Linked DNA regions of Homo sapiens: region 1 is linked to region 2. Evidence: promoter capture Hi-C in human tissues and cell types (Jung and others, 2019). All regions are on one chromosome and are shown on one strand. The core of a region is centred on a gene start or on the middle of the fragment in contact, and the rest is flanking DNA. Distances in the headings are between cores, read along the strand shown.

Region 1 (3,190 bases), core at 124-2,623, 690 kb before region 2:
TAGGAGCTTCAATGCCACTTTTCTTTCTGCCACGTAGACCAGGTTACATAGTTTGTGTTTCCTTTGCTTTTAGGGGCAGACCATAAAGCACACTCACAACTTTCTTTTGTGGCTTCAGATGGGCCTGTGGCTTCTAGTCCTCACTACACTGTCTTGTTAACTTCCCGAAATCCAGATACTATACATGCTTGATCAACAGCCACTTTCATCTCCAACAGAATATTTAGTAACACATACACATGACTCCAACTTTCTGTCCTGGAAATTGCCAATGTTCTTGTTGGAAAGTAACAAGCATGTTCTTAAGAGGTTCCAGTTTTCACTTCACATGAAGTAATGAGATATTATTCTGTCTATTTTTCATCTTCAAATCCATTTTCATGGCCCTTCTATTAAATATTTGTGTTTGTAAAGATTAAGTGATTGGCAAGGTTACAAGCTGATGTCTTTTATTTATCCAAGGCTTGGTGGTGTCTCAGCAACTGCCAAAGTAACTTCACCTCTGCTGTGCTGAAACCACGACCTCACCCGTGACCCTGTGAGCTGTCACCTCTGGGAGGAGAGCTGCTTCTAACCTCATTTTATCTGAGTAGTCTGCAAGTACACTATGCCACATGGTTGCTGCTTACAGGATAAGCTATAATTATCATTCACTTTATTTCTGCCTTTTAACTGGCTTTCCTAATTCTGGGCCTTCAGAATTTTCTCTAAGAATTTAAGGAACTGCAGGGTACAAACAGGGGGCATAAGCCAGCCAGTTTGTGAAGAAAAGTTAGTTAACTAGAGTAGACTTCCATAACCCACTTAGGGAAAGGGGGAAAAAAAGAAACCAAAGATATGTATCTTTCAGCAAGTGTATCAAAAGCAGTTATGTATCATGGATACAATTCAAAATCCTCTCTCTTTCTGGAGGAAGGGAGGTGGAACACACCTAAATTCATCTTCTGTCTGCCTAAGCTTCCGGAAGGAGAGGAGGACTGAACACTTCATTCAGATGATCATGTGACTGCAGTAGAGGGAGGTGCAGTCTTGATTCTGATTGACTAGGACAGTTAATGGAAAAGAGGGTGGTAAAATGTACATGGTTGGACAGTTTTACTTCTACATCCCTAATTGGTAACCAAAGCCAATAAGGCACATAGTGATTGAAACACTTGAACATGCCACTAGAACTCAACGAAGCTGACGAGTCTGTCATCGCTCTGCCCACGGCTCAAGATGCGTATGCAGCATGCTGTACAGCATTGTGTCCATTCCAAAAGCAAACTCCCCGACCACAGCAGGTGCTGTATCAGTCACTTTCACAATGCTGATTGCAACATCTGATCTGGTGCCGGAGCTGAAGGATTTCATCAGGCTGGACAGATCAATTGTTGGAGAGAAAGGCAAAATAAAAATAGCACCATGGTGCATACCTGACTGGAAAAATGGGTAATGTTACCACCAAGTGCAAGGCTGTGAAGGCTGCTTTCTCGCTTATCTATAATGCTGTGTGCAAACCCAGCTGTAACCTGATGCAGCAGATAAACAAAAGATTCAGTGCTCTACTCTCAGCTGTCAAGCCAGGAGGCACCACAACCTCTGTCAAACTCAACCCAGCATGTGACTTCAACGAAGCCGCAGCATGACTAGCTAGCAAGGGTCTTGACATCAAGATAACACGATTACTCTTTCAACTTGGTACCGACCCTAACCTTGGGGTCACTGGGTGTGCCTTCATAAGTCAGTTTAAGCTCATCACAACCTTTTCTGAAATGACCTCATATGTTATAATGTGAAGTTTCATTGAGGAAGGATTCAATCATGCCTCACTGCTCCCTGGTGCAGGTTGTGACATAATGAAATTCATGAGCATTGAAGGACGACTCATTGAGAAACATGGGGAAGAACTTCCATTTCTTAGTCTTCTGACTCAGAGGGCACAAAGAATTAACACCTGCAAAGTTCCCTAATCTCTGTAAGGTCACAAATACATGGAAAAGAAAGCTAGATAATTCACTCAGAGACTACCAGTCAACAAAGGAGTCCCCCTCCAAACTTACTGATCATGAGGTTGAAGAGGCAGCTTCAAAACCACCTTTTAAGAAGGCACTGGTGAGCAAAGAAGATGAAAAAGGACTATAAGCAGCATACAATATATCTAGGGAAGATATTAAAGTTGCACTGACATTGAAGCCCAGAACAGAACAAACCAGTGTCCCAACATGGCTCTTGGAGGCGATCGAGAACAGAGAACGCATGCAAACTTAGGGAAAAAAAGGTATATGGTCAGTCTCCTGGCAAAATATTTGCCCAAAGTGAAAAGGCACACTCTGCAAAAATCCTTGTTGCCGATCTGTTCTGTGGGTAGGTACACTGTGTGGCAGTGTGGAAGGTGGTCACCTTTCTCTGCAACTGCAGAGAGCTGAGAGCCATACTCCAACCAGCCACGCCAGCACTCCAAAGAGCTGCGGGGCCAGCTCTTCCCTGGGCAGCTGAGGAACCAGCTGCCTGGGAGTCGCCAAACCCCTGCAGGAAGTACTTTGAACCCAGAGACATTTCCCACTGCCCCCAGAAGCCAGCAGGACCAGTCCAACCATGCCTCCCATCCCTGTTCACTTCTGTCATCCATTACCACTGGCCTCTCATCTCCTCCTACTGTACATCTTGATCTAATCCAATCCCTCACCCTTCCAAGCCATCCCTCCGTGCCCCTGGAACCAAGAGTCCCCCGAGTCTTCTGCTTCTATGCTGAATGGTCCTGTGCTCTGCTGATATTGCCTCTTCCCATGCGGCCCTTGCAAGGCAAGGCTCTTGCATCTCACAGCTCTCCAACCTCAGGGTTAGTGCTTCTAGACAATGCTGCTTCCAGACCATTCTTTTCTCAGAAAACTCCTTCCCCTCTTTAACATTTATGCCATCCAGCTAAACTGTTCTCTCCTCAATCTTCAGTGACCCCTTCATTGCTTCCTGCTAGCAGCTAAACTCTCAAGATCCTGGATTAATCTTGCTTCCCACCCCATCTCTTGCCATCATTCTTGATAACATCAATATCCATGTGGATGTCCCACCCATATCTGGCCCACCACTTTCTTTAGCTCACCTCCAAACTCATCTTAACTCCATGTTAGCCCCTACTCCCAAGTTTATAAATTGCCATTGTCATTACCATCAACAGCTCAACCTCCATGTCCCTGACTTAGTCATCTAA
Region 2 (3,402 bases), core at 601-3,100:
GACATTATCCTAAGTGAACAAACTCAGAAACAGAAAATCAAATATTGCATGTTCTCATAAGCGGGAGCTAAACAATAGGTATACATGTACATAAGAATGGGAATAACAAGACACTGGGGACTCCAAAAAGGGAGAGGGTGGGAAGGGGGTGAGGGCTGAAAAATTAGCTATTGGGTACAATGTTCAATGTTTGGGGGACAGGTACACCAGAAGCCCAATCCCCACCATTACACAATATACCTATGTAACAAGCAAGCACATGTACCCCCGAATCTAAAATTAAAAAACAATCAAAAAGCACCGACTTCCTTAACTGGCATGGAATAGTTTCGAGAATGGATGTAAACACCGAATTCCTTAATGTAGTTGCAGATTCTGCCAGTTTTGTCTCAACCTCTGGATCGGTTCCTTTTTTTAACTACCTTTAATTCTTAAACAGATTGTTGCTATTGCTATGCTATATACTTATTGTATCACTTATAAATGTATAACCTCTGCAAATTAGTCTCTGAATTGAAAGTATTCATTGGTAAAACGGGTATTTCTTCACCATAGGAATAGTTGGACATGTTTAAATACTTGAGAGCTATTTTTATTACAAGCACACACAGCTTTGTGGTGTTTTTTGTTGAGACAGAGTCTCGCTCTGTTGCCCAGGCTGGAGTGCAGTAGTGCGATCTTGGCTTACTGCAACCTTCGCCTCCTGGGTTCAAGCAATTCTCCTGCCTCAGCCTCCTAAGTAGCCGGGAGTACACACTAATTTTTGTATTTTTAGTAGAGACGGGTTTTTGCCATGTTGGCCAGGCTGGTCTCAAACTCTTGACCTCAGGTGATCCACCCGCCTCAGCTTCCCAAAGTGCTGGGATTAGAGGTGTGAGCCACCGCGCCCGGCCTGTAGTGTGTTTTTGAACGTATATGTGAAGTTGTAGCTTTTTTTTTTTTTTTTTTGAGACGGAGTCTCCCTCTGTCGCCAGGCTGGAGTGCAGTGGCGCGATCTCGGCTCACTGCAACCTCTGACTCCCTGGTTCAAGCTATTCTGCCTCAGCCTCCAGAGTAGCTGAGATTACAGGCGCCCGCCACCGCGCCCGGTTAAACGTTTTGTATTTTTAGTAGAGACGGCGTTTCACCATGTTGGCCAGAATGGTCTCGATCTTCTGACCTCGTGATCCGCCCGCCTTGGCCTTCCAAAGTGCTGGGATTACAGGCCTGAGACACAGCGCCCGACCTAAGCTGTAGTTTTATGATTATGATTTATGGTTGTGAGGCATTGATTTAAGACATTTTAAAGCTTAAGTCGTCAGATCCTAGAAGAAAAAAAAATTCACCAAGACAAGCTAATGCCATTGTCATAAATGGGAGTTTGGAGAAAATTTTATTAATATTTGTTTGGGTGGTTTATGTACAGCGTTGAACTGATTTGAACCCCGACCAAACACTGTATGGAACTAATGTACGGTAGGGGAAATCATTAACTGAAGATGCCTTTTTTGTTGCTATTGTTTAGAACGCAGTTAGAAAATCTTATTTTAGAGGTTTTACCCCGTTGACAAAGCCTCAACTTTTCTTCAAAAGAACTAATTTCCATTTTACCTCCCCTACATTTTGAACAGAATATGGAAGAAGCCAGCGCCCCTTCTCCGCGGGCGCTGCTGCAACCCTGCTCCCGCCGGGGCTTCCGCGCGAAACCGGGAACACTGGAGCAGTACCGACTCCGCTCGCCTAGAACCCGCCCCAGCCGGGCCCACTTCCGCCAGAGCCCTGGCCGCGCCCGCCCCGCCCCACGGACCCGAGATTCGTCGGAATTTTCCCGCGACGCCGCGGGAGCGCGCGGGGCCGCTAGCCAGGCCCCAGAATGCACTGCTGACACGTGTGCGCGCGCGCGGCTCCACTGCCGGGCGACCGCGGGAAAATTCCAAAAAAACTCAAAAAGCCAATACGAGGCAAAGCCAAATTTTCAAGCCACAGATCCCGGGCGGTGGCTTCCTTTCCGCCACTGCCCAAACTGCTGAAGCAGCTCCCGCGAGGACCACCCGGTAAGCGGCAGGCCGCAGAACGCAGCGAGGGCGGAGGCTTCCCTCGGGGGTCTGGCCGACACGTCAGCGGCGAGAGCGGGAGGAGGAGGCGAGGGGCAAGAGGGAAGGCTCGCGAGAGCGGGTGGGCCAGGCGCGCCTTGCGGTGGGCGAGAGGGGTTCCCGCCGGCGCAGGGCTGTGGCTAAGGCTGAGGCGGGAGGCGGGAGGCGGGAGGCGGAAGGTGGCGGGCGGTGCCAGCCCGCGGGGCGGGGCCAGGGCGGGGAAAGCGGGGGCGGGAGCCGGCGCTGGGGTCGCGCGGAAGGGAGCCCCCGGAGAGGCGGGAGCCGGGTGTTGGCGTTTTGGTTCTTTTTGTTCATTGAGCGCAGGCAGCTATGTCTTCTTCAAAGGAGAGGAGCAAAGGTGAATTTCTCTGCCTCGGACTCGTGGGAGCCGTGAAAAGCTCGCCCCTTTGAGCCGGTCGCCCTCTACAGCTGGCCTCGTCCTCCCCGTCCCTCACACCCCTGCCCCCAAACCCCATTCGCCGGGGCGCCAGGAGGGGCGAGGTCCAATTAGAGGAGCCCGGGGCGCGGCTGTTACCCCTCCCGCCCTCCGCCTTTTATTCCCGGAGGGAGGCGGGTTCGCAGAGGCCAGTGTCTTCCCTCCATTCTTTTTGTGGACGCCAGGCCATATCTTCAAAGCCCGTGAGAGATTTTTCAGGTGCTGTTTGTTGGTTTGCTCTTTTTAATTTTTTAGGTGGGTGCGTTTACAACTACGAACCCTCTATGATCTTATGTGTCCAGCGCACCGAATGGGGGAAAAGACTTGGAGTTTTATAACATGGGAAATTGGGTACCAGAATCTTAAGGGAAGAGACCAAGGAGTTTTCTAGCAAAGTCCTGTATGTGCCTGGACTTTTGTTCTAATCTGAAACTTGGAAAACTCCCGGGCATCTGATTTTATTCTAACTTGTGCCCCATTTAATGCATCTAAACTGTGATGTGATTTGACTTAGCATTTATCAAATGAGCAGAGCACTTTTGGGCCACCCAACTTCAGCTCTTTGTGGCTGTCACTCACTGTCAGTGATATGCCCTCAGACAGATCGTTTTCTCCTTACTCCCCTGAAAGGTTGTTACAAACAGTAGAATTCATACCATGTGTTGAGATCATTCATTACCTAAGCTTAGATGGAAAACATGTTCATTGCGACTTTATACATTAAACTTGAATTGATGTTTCAATGTTATGTGCTGTACCAGAGTCACCTGGAAATAAGCACTCATATACATTATTCATATACAAGAAAGGCTGCATCGAAAAAGAATTTGTTTTCCTAGATATATCAGAGATCTTTTTCACCAACCCACTACTCCCAGTAATAGAGCCTGCTTC

Evidence for each region. Contacts are between HindIII fragments. The study calls those that stand out against the background at their distance.
Region 1: a contact is called between a fragment that was not itself captured here and the fragment with the promoter of FANCC in region 2, in 1 of the 25 tissues and cell types used here (dorsolateral prefrontal cortex).

What each region holds. Positions count from the first base shown.
Region 1 is chr9:96,007,219-96,010,408 of GRCh38, reverse strand. All of the region lies in intron 18 of ERCC6L2 (ERCC excision repair 6 like 2), which reads right to left. Among named protein-coding and RNA genes, the nearest start is that of LINC00092, 13 kb to the left of the region's middle. The HindIII fragment of the contact is 4,239 bases long and covers 1-3,190 here.
Region 2 is chr9:95,316,157-95,319,558 of GRCh38, reverse strand. It overlaps FANCC (FA complementation group C), which reads left to right and starts at 1,850. Exons shown (of 15, transcript NM_000136.3): 1 at 1,850-2,033. RefSeq lists a silencer at 2,179-2,498. The HindIII fragment of the contact is 11,527 bases long and covers 1-3,402 here.